2 separate regions of the Homo sapiens genome follow, and region 2 is linked to region 1. Evidence: promoter capture Hi-C in 16 types of primary human blood cells and fetal thymus (Javierre and others, 2016). All regions are on one chromosome and are shown on one strand. The core of a region is centred on a gene start or on the middle of the fragment in contact, and the rest is flanking DNA. Distances in the headings are between cores, read along the strand shown.

Region 1 (5,004 bases), core at 443-2,942:
ACAAAAATTAGTCAGGTGTAGTGGCACGCACCTGTAGTCCCAGCTACTCAGGAGGCTGAGGCAGGAGAATCGCTTGAACCCAGGAGGTGGAGGTTGCAGTGAGCCAACATTGTGACACTGCACTCCAGCCTGGGCAACAGAGTGAGACTCTGTCTCAAAAAAAAAAATTAATTATTATATCATGTAAGAATGAAGAGCTACAAAGGAGGTGCTGATATTCCTAAGTCTATAATCAATAAGCATCATTAACAAGGAAATAGGAGACATGATTCACAGGTTGCAAATAACCCATTAAATAGTGAGGGCAACCAGCCCCAGTGGCTCACATCTGTAATCCTAGCACTTTGGGAGGCCGAGACGGGCAGATCACCTGAGGTCAGGAGTTCGAGACCAGTCTGGCCAATATGGTGAAACCCCGTCTCTACTAAAAATACAAAAATTAGCCAGGCGTGGTGGTGCTCACCTGTAATCCCAGCTACTAGGGAGGCTGAGACAGGAGAATTGCTTGAACCCGGGAGGCAGAGGTTGCAGTGAGCCAAGATTGCGCCACTGCACTCCAGCCTGGGCAACAGAGCAGAACTCCGTCTCAAATTCAAATAATAATAATAATAATAATAATAATAATAATAATGATGAGGGCAAATGCCGTTACAGGATCTCTGGGTAGCTGTTATCAGGACTGTAATTTTGCACAGCCTTTTTGAAGAGCAATTTGGGAGTATCATTAAATTTTAAATGTGTATACCCTTTATAAAAAAAAGAAAACTCTGTGTGGTAGAAGAGGCCTGGACGCACTGTCCCCTAGCCATCTCCTCTGAGGGTGCAGGCTTGTTTCGATACCCAGTGCTGAATCCAGGCTGAACAAGGAGAGAACCTGGACTAGGACTCCAGTTCCATCACTGCTATTCTATTCCAAAGGACTCACACGTCTCTAATCATGGAGTATTTGCTCCTCCAGGGGGCAGAAGCAAACAGGGAAACACCAGACTCAAAGCTCTTTTGTGTACTTATCTCAAGATTGGTTCACTTCCCTCAAAACCTCTCTTCACTGATAAATGTCCTTCCTTATCAAACAAAGTCCTTGAAAGAAAACTTCACCACATTCTCCCTGCCCATGCTGATATGTAAGGCTTGGACAGAACAAATGCTGTACTGTGCCTTCCAGCTCTTTCCTTTATTTGTGCTCCCTGGAGGTTCTGGCTGGGGAAGCCCCTGTCACATGACTGTGAGCAGACAGCTGTGTGGTGCAGGGCAAAAGAGGAACCAGCCTTGGAATCACAAGATGTGGGTTTAAGTCCTAGTTCCTCCATCTCCTCCTACTAGGGTCTGAATCTTGCATGGTCTTGGAAGAGACTGAGCTATAACAGCAGAGAAGCTAGGAAGGAAATGGGAATCTGAGGTCTGGGGCAGAAAATCCTTACCTAAAAGAACAGAAGAAAAATGGCTAAAGCTGGAGGTGAAGCCAAAAACCATGCAGGTCCCAAGTGCCAATAAGAATAGCAGGTCTGAGCCTCAGACAAGACACAGCATTGCTTAAATATCCTGTGGCAAGGGAGTCACTCCACAGGCCCAGCCTGAAGACATTACCGCTGACATTTCCCATTAACGTCACAATTTTCCTCTATGAGGTGGTGAGGTGGAGTGGGAAGGGCTGTTAGCTGGCACTTGCAACTTTATTGCGCCAGCAAGAACATGCATACAGCCCAGTCTAACGTACAGGATCAAAAAGGTAATGACAGTGTGACTTTGAGTCAGTTTGAGTCAGCCCCAGTTTATTCATCTATAAAACAAGATTAAAACTAATGCTTGGCCAGGTGCAGTGGCTCACACCTACAATCCCAGCACTTTGGGAGGCTGAGGTGGGAGGATGGCTTGAGCTCAGGAGTTTGAGACCACCCTGGGCATCACAGGGAACCCCGTCTCTACAAAAAATAAAAAAACTAGCCAGGCATGGTAGTACAAGCCTGTAGTCATCACAGCTACTCAGGAGGCTGAGGCAGGAGGATCTCTTGAGCAGGAGGTTCTTCAAAAGGTGACTGTGAGGGCAGGGTACAGTGGCTCATACCTGTAATCCCAGCACTTTGGGAGGCCAAGGCGGGTGGATTGCTTGAGCTGCAGAGTTTGAGACCAGCCTGGGCAACATGGCGAAACCCCATCTCTACCAAAAATACAAAAATTGGCTGGGCATGGTGGCACGCATCTGTGGTCCCAGCTACTTGGGAGGCTAAGGAAGGAGGATCACTCGAGCCCAGGAAGTGGAGGAGCCAAGATCGCTCCACTGCACTCCAGCCTGGGTGAAAGAGTGAGACTCTGTCTCAGAAAAAAGGTGACCGTGAGGATCCAATGAGATTTCTGTAAAGATGCTTTGCAAACTGTGTTTATTCAAATATAAGATATTGACTTTAAAGGAAATAAAGGCAGCCATTTCAAAGTACAAATCACCAACCTTATGGTGTTGCACATCTCTCATGGAATCTCTCTCTTAGGACCTGGAGGGAGGTCTCTATATTCTAAACTAAAATGGGCTCAGAGCAGACAGAGTCCATATCCTATGTAGGTAGGACAGTAACTGTTTTGTCCTTGCACATAAATAGAGGAAGAAAAACTTGGGGGCTGGGTTTGGAAAATAAAATTTCAACAAACTACAGAAGACCCACTTCTCCTTCTAGAACCCACCCTGGAAATCCCACACTCAACCCAGTCTGATCTCCGTAAATTTCAACTGTTCTTTAGAACTTCTGGAAATGATGTGGGGGGGTGGGGAGGGGAAGGGCAGGGGTTCTTCTGGCCTTGCAGTTAGTACAGGGCTGTTCATTCAAGGCTAGGGTCAGCACTACTCACAGGTTTGAGGACTTCACAGATAAACCAAAAAAACCAAAATACAGTAAAATGTCATGACTTCATTAATTTAGAATTTGTTTTGATCTAAATGAGGATACATTTATCTTGACAATTTCTATGAAAAGGGCTTCATTAAATAAATGTATAAAATAAACAAGAATGAGGGAATGCTTCACCAGTTAATTTACAATCACATATTGAGTACCTTTAATAAGCCCAGTGTTAACTGCTATAGAGCACATGGGTAAAACATAAGATGGGCAAAACATTCTTAGTGAAAAAGGGAGTTCTGAGGTCAAACGTGTTTGGGAAATGCAAGGTGGACAAGGCTAAAATAGGTTTCTTCGCAGGAAGAATTCTCAGAGCCTTTAATAGGTCAATATGCATTGCAAATCTCTGAGGGGGAAGAGATTAGGCAGCGCTTCTCAAATTTACTTGACCGGAAAACTCTTGTTTTACAAAGTTCCCCTTATTGCCTACAGAAACACTTGGACAAGAGAATACATATCAAATATATGATGTACTTCAATCAAAGAGCTTATAATCTTGTTGGGGAAGCAAAGCTTATAAATACGCATAAAACAAAGATTACGTGGTGGCTCATGGCCATAATCCCAGTGCTTTGGGAGGCCAAGGCAGGAAGATCACTTGAAGCCAGGAGTTCAAGACCGCCCTGGGAAATACAGCAAAAGACCCTGTCTCTATAAAAAACAAAGTTAGCCAGACATGATAGCATGTGCCTGTAGTCCCAGCCACTCAGGAGGCTGAAGTGGGAGGATTGCTTCAGCCCAGAAGTTTGAGACCAGCCTGGGCAACATAGTGAGACCCTGTCTCTACAGAATATTTTAAAAATTAGATGGATGTGGTGGCGCCTGTGTGTAGTTCCAGCTACTTGGGAGGGTGAGGTGAGAGGATTGCTTGAGCCCGGGAGGTGAAGGCTGCAGTGAGCCATGATTGTACCCCTGTGCTCCATTCTGGGTGATAGAGCAAGACCCTGTCTCAAAAAAGAAAAGGAAAGTACAGAAAAATGTTCAAGCTTTTCAGAAAGAGCAGGATAGAAAAAAAAAATACTTCCTCTTGGCCAGGTGCGATGGCTCATCCCCGTGATCCCAGCACTTTGGGAGGCCGAGGCGGGCGGATCACCTGAGGTCAGGAGTTCAAGACTAGCCTGGCCAACATGGTGAAACCCCATCTCTACAAAAATACAAAAATTAGCCGGGCATGATGGCGGGTGCCTGTAATCCCAGCTACTCAGGAGGCTGAGGCGGAGAATCGCTTGAACCCGGGAGACAGAGGTTGCAGTGAGCCAAGATAACGCCATTGCACTCCAGTAGCCTGGGTGACAGAGCGAGACTCTGTCTCAAAAAAAAAAAAAACTTCCTCTTAAAATCTGCAAACATCGTCTTTTATTTTTATTCAAGGGCCTTAAAAACAACCAGAGCTTTAGGCCAAGCCGTAAAGCCCATCTGTCAGAGATGTGAGACGCTTGCTTCTATATTCCTAACAAGATAAAAGTCCAGTGCTTAAAGATGACCCACCAGGGCCTAGCACAGGTCCAGCTTTGCTGTCACTGACACAGATGACACAACACCAAAGACTTATTTTTCAATTCTACCAAACTGAGATAATTAGTTCCCAAATCCCTGAGCATTTACTTCTGCCTCAAGAAGAGGTTACTGAACTCCATAAGAATTCTTCTCAAGAAAGAACTACCAAAGAATAACCTTATTTCATGCACAACACAGCTCTGAGATCAGACTCCACCTCATTGCCTTAATATTTGCTTCACACAGGGCCAAGCATGGTGCTTTGCACATAGTAGGCCCTCAACGAACATTTACTGGACAAACAAAGAAATAAAGCTTTAAATACTTGGGGGACTTGCATGCTTTTTGGATAAAAGTCTGGTTTTTTGAGGAGAGAAGGGAAGATAGGTAGAAGAGAGTCTGCTAAACTCTAAAGATAAAAAGGAATGGCTTTTAGAAACACACTGACACTGGGAGAGCTTATTCCTTCATTCATTCACCCAACAATTATTTATTGAACACCTACATAGCAGGTATTCTTCCAGGTACTGGAGACCCATAGTAGGAGATAGATAAACTCCCTCACCTTCATGGAAATTATATTGAGGCAAAGTAGTTAAAAGCATAGGTTTTGGAG
Region 2 (5,004 bases), core at 1,575-4,074, 51 kb after region 1:
AGCTCCTACTATGTGCCAGGTACTACATAAAAGAAATAGAGGCCAGGCACAGTGGCTCACAACTGTAATCCCAGCACTATGGGAGGCCAAGGCAGACGGATCACTTCAGGTCAGGAATTTGAGATCAGCCTAGCCAACATGGCGAAACCATCTACTAAAAATAGAAAAATTAGCCAAACATGGTGGTGCATGCCTGTATTCCCAGCTACTCTGGAGGCTGCGGCAGAAGAATTGCTTGAACCTGGGAGGTGGAGGTTGCAGTGAGTTAAGATCACACCACTGTACTCCAGCCTGGGAGACAGGCTCAAAAAAAAAAAGAAAAAGAAAAAAAAGAAATAGAGTCTTTGTCCTCAAGGAATTCCTAAGAGGGATATTCAGCTGTAAAACTCTTATTGAATAATGCAATACTATGCGTGCATTTCCATGTATTTATACATATAATTTTATTGATAATATATATAAGGTAACGCCTTGTTTATCAGGAAATAACTTTTACCCAACAACCTAGCCAAGAATTAGGGATTATTAAGGAAAAGAGGCGCCTGTAATCACAGCACTTTGGGAGGCTGAGACAGGCAGATCACCTAAGGTTGGGAGTTCGAGACCAGCCTGGCCAGCATGGTGAACCCCTTTCTCTACTAAAAATATAAAAAATTAGCCAGGCATGGTGGCATGTGCCTTTAATCCCTGCTACTCGGGAGGCTGAGGCAGGAAAATCGCTTGAACCCAGGAGGCAGAGATTTCAGTGAGCCAAGATCGCGCCATTGCAATCTAGCCTGGGCAACAAGAGCAAGACTCCATCTCAAAAAAAAAAAAAAAAGGCATTTGAGTGTACAAAAAAGGTGTCACTAAACTAACTCAGTTTGTTTGTAAGATCCTTGGGGTCTAGTTATTTTCATCACAAATGTTAACAAGTTCATTTGGCTGGTTTCCTACGTTATAATGAGCTGAGAATTAGGAGCTTCCAGAGCTGGATCAGGAATAAGAAGTGGCAGCTGGTGATGAATGAAGCAAAATAATATGTGATGAAAGTGACAGAAAAATCATTTTCTGTCATGGCATCTCTCTGCCATGGACCAGTGCAGTAACAGATGCTTTCGGTCAGAGCTTGAGTCAGAAAAAGGTTAAAGAATGTTCTGTTCATGCTGTTTTAAGAGGGAGAAAAATATTTAATGCATTTTAGAAGGCTTTTTGTGAAAGATGATGCAAATGTTTTAAAAGGTTTAATTCTTATAGAGTTGAGTAATCTGGAAGATTCACTTAAATGATACCAAATAACTGGGAAAATATTGCCTTTGATTATTATTTATGCATAATAATGATAAATTCTGCAATAAGAACAATGTAAAATATAATGTATAATAAAAATGTTGCTTATAGGTTAAAGATGAGAACAAAAGGAAGATTTCAAGCTGGAATTGCAGAAGGAGGATTTGAGATTAATGCTGGGTCTGAAAATTGAGCAAAGGTGTAATGGTAAGATTGAGTGAGAGGAGATGGTGGTCTAAATGAAGGAATTATTGTTGAAAATGTTAAAAATGCAGCAGAATAGCCTGGGCAAAATGGTGAGACTTTGTCTCTACAAAAATTACAAAAATTAGCCAGATGTGGTGGCTTGAGCGTGTGGTTCCAGCTACTTGGGAGGCTGAGGTGGGAGGATCACCTGAGCCCGCCTGGGAGGTTGGGGCTGTGGTGAGCCATGATTGCACCACTGCACTCCTGCCTGGGCAACACAATGAGACCCTGTCTCAGAAAAAAAAAAAAAGTGCAGCAGAGTAAATTCCTGTTTGATCAACTTCTTACAATGAATGTTTACAGCCCTTGCTGGGTTAGAAAATCAGCTTGAAAACATACTTTGTATATTTATTTTGAGTCTATGTGTACTTAGTCTAATTCATGCATTTATCCAGTAGACATTCACTGAATACCTACTAAGTGTCTGGCATCATTCTAGGTGCTGAGGGTGTCTCTAAGAACAAAACTAGCTGTGCCCTCAAAGAGATCCTAGAATGTAGACTACTAAGAATTAACAGAGAAAACACTAAAACTTGTATGCTTATTAATCACTGTGTAAGTAATAAATGGAGGTCTCATTTAGATAAAACAAAAGCCTTGCGATCTCCATTAGTCAGAGTAATATAGATTTGCTGGGCATAGTGGCATGAGCCTGTCGTCCCAGCTACTCAAGAGGCTGAGCTGGGAAGATGGCCTGAGCTTGGAAGGTCGAGGCTACAGTGAGCTGTGATTGCACCACTACACTCCAGCCTGAAAGACAGAGTGAGTCCCTGTCTCAGAAAAAAAAAAAAAAAGTAATATAGATTTGATACAGTAGACAGTGTGGCGTAGCAGAAAGAACATGGGCTGTGAAGTCAGAGATCTGAGTTCAAATTTTGACTCTGAGACTTAATAAATATCTGTGTGACTGTAGCCAAGTTAATGAATCTCTCTGAACCTAATTTTTCTTATAATAGAGATAGTGAATACCTTCTTGTTTAAGGAATAAATGAGATAATAGAGATAATACCTTCTTGTATAAGGAATAAATGGAATAATATGTGTAGTGATGGTAGATCAAGGCTATGAAGAACTGGGCATGCTTTGCTTTGGTGAGAGCATTGGTTTAGCTTTGGGGAGGGCCCATAACTGTTGGGGGCATAAAAGGAAGAAGAGGGTTTTGTTTTTGTTTTTGAGATGGAGTTTCACTCTTGTTGCCCAGGCTGGAGTGCAGTGGCACAGACTCAGGTCACTGCAACCTCCACCTCCCGGGTTCAAGTGTTTCTTCTGCCTCAGACGCCCAAGTAGCTGGGATTACAGGCACCTGCCACCACGCTGGCTAATTTTTTGTATTTTTAGTAGAGATGGAGTTTCACCATGTTGGCCTGGCTGGTCTCGAACTCCTGACCTCAGGTGATCCACCCGCCTCGGCCTCCCAAAGTGCTGGGATTACAGGCATGAGCCACCACGCCTGGCAGAGAAGAGTTATTTTGGAGATAAGAGGATAAATGTCAGTTACAGGGAAATGGAAATTTTGGTATAGCCTGTACATTAGACACTATTGTGTATGTTAAATTTCATGGGTATTGTCTTAATTCATTTGGGCTGATATGATAAAATACCATAGACTAGGTAGCTTATAAACAACAGAAATTTATTTCTAACACTTCTGGAGCTGGGAAATCCAAGATCACTGGCAGATTCAGAGTCTGGTGAGGGCCTGCCTTCTGGCTTATAGATGTGGTCATCTTCTCACTGTGCCCTCATATGGTAGAAGGGGCAAGGGAGCTCTCTATGATCTCTTTTATAAGGGCACTAATCCCATTCATGAGGGTTCCACCCTCATGACCTTTTCATCTCCCAAAGGCCTCACCTCCAAATGCCATCACACTGGGGATTAGGTTTCAACATATGAGTTTCAGGGGGAAACATTCAGTCTATTGCAGGTATGATAGTGATATTGTGATCATGTAGGAGAATGTCTTTGTTCATAGAAAACACACACTGAAGAATCTAGGGGTAAAGTATCATGATGTCTGCACATTACTGTCAATGATTCAGCAAAGTGTGTGTGTATGTGTGTGTCTAGAGAGAGAGATAAAGTAAATGTGGCTAAATGTTAACAATTGGTGTCTGTAGGTAAAGGGTATATGTGTATTCTTTAAATTTTCTGGTTTTCAGGTTTTGTTTTGTTTGAGACAAAGTCTCTCTCTGTCACCCAGGTTGCAATGCATTGGCACGATCTCAGCTGACTGCAACCTCCATCTCCCGGGTTCAAGCAATTCTCATGCCTCAGCCTTCCGAGTAGCTGGGACTACAGGTGTGTGCTACCATGCCCAGCTAATTTTTGTATTTTTAGTAAAGACAAGATTTTGCCATGTTGGCCAGGCTGGTCTCGAACTCCTGGCCTCATGTGATCTACTCACCTAGGCTTCCCAAAGTTCTGGGATTATAGGCGTGAGCCACCACACCCGGCCTGGTTTTCAGGTTTGAAAATAAAAAGTTGGAAAAATATCTACACATGATTCTGTATTCCCCCAATTGTATTTGGGATACAATGTAAGACTTTTCATGCACATAATTTTCCTTAAAAATCTTATCTTGAGGTTTTTTTGGGGGGGCAGAAATATGAACAATTTCTGTGCAAATATTAGTCAAAAACACCATATCCAGAGAAAAATACATTCCCTGATGTTTGATAAAAACAAAGATACATTCCACTTGGAAGACATTTATCAGGGAGGTGCTTTGCACCTCCTGTGTGACTGCATATGAATTTTTTTTACTTTTTATTTTTATCCCCTTGATTAATCTATTTTGTTTGTTTGTTTGTTTTTTGAGACAGGGGCTCCCACTGTTGCTCAGGCTAGAGTGTAGTAGCATGATCATGGCTCACTGCCACCTAGACCTCCCAGGCTCAAGGAATCCTCAGTAGCTGGGGCTACATGCACATGCCACCATTCCCAGCTAATTTTTTATTATTTGTAGAGACAGGGTCTCACTATGTTGCCCAGGCTGGTCTTGAACTCCTGGGCTCAAGCAGTCCTCCTGCCTTAGCCTCCCAAAGTGCTGGGATTACAGGTGTGAGCCACTGCACCCTGCCTGCTTTATTCTTTGCAAATGGTAAGGCCATGTAAATCTAAGAATGTGGAAAAGCCTAAATGCAGTATACACAACCATCTGTGGTTCTGTTGAATTTACATGTTCTGCTCTGGCAAGCTGGAGTAACAGGGACTGGTGTATCCTCCTGCCTGAAACAACTGAAAAACCATGTAGACAAAATGTCTACCTGCATTCTAGCCTGGGCAAGTAGCAAGACTCCATATCTTAAAAAAAAATACAAAAGAGCAAAGAACCAGGAAAAGATCACTCATATGAGGACAATAACAATCAATCAATCAATAGAATTACACCCAGAAATGCCATAGGTAATAGAATTAGTATATTTGCCTTGGCTTTTGAGGTGAGGTAAAACAAACAAGCAAAATAATTAGTAGATAGGGATACTAA

What was found. Contacts are between HindIII fragments. The CHiCAGO score rates a contact against its expected background, and 5 or more counts as called.
Region 2: a contact is called between a fragment that was not itself captured here and the fragment with the promoter of CFLAR-AS1 in region 1, in 6 of 17 cell types (neutrophils, megakaryocytes, activated CD4 T cells and 3 more). The highest score is 7.3, in neutrophils.

The regions. Positions count from the first base shown.
Region 1 is chr2:201,154,480-201,159,483 of GRCh38, reverse strand. CFLAR-AS1 (CFLAR antisense RNA 1) reads left to right here and starts at 1,692. Exons shown (of 7, transcript NR_040030.1): 1 at 1,692-1,729. The region is part of intron 8 of CFLAR (CASP8 and FADD like apoptosis regulator); the gene reads right to left. RefSeq lists enhancers at 964-1,293, 1,314-1,393. The HindIII fragment of the contact is 4,248 bases long and covers 1-3,406 here.
Region 2 is chr2:201,104,516-201,109,519 of GRCh38, reverse strand. It overlaps LOC105373836 (a long non-coding RNA gene), which reads left to right. Exons shown (of 3, transcript XR_923785.3): 2 at 1,381-1,476; 3 at 3,717-4,016. Among named protein-coding and RNA genes, the nearest start is that of CFLAR, 9.1 kb to the left of the region's middle. The HindIII fragment of the contact is 7,388 bases long and covers 1-5,004 here.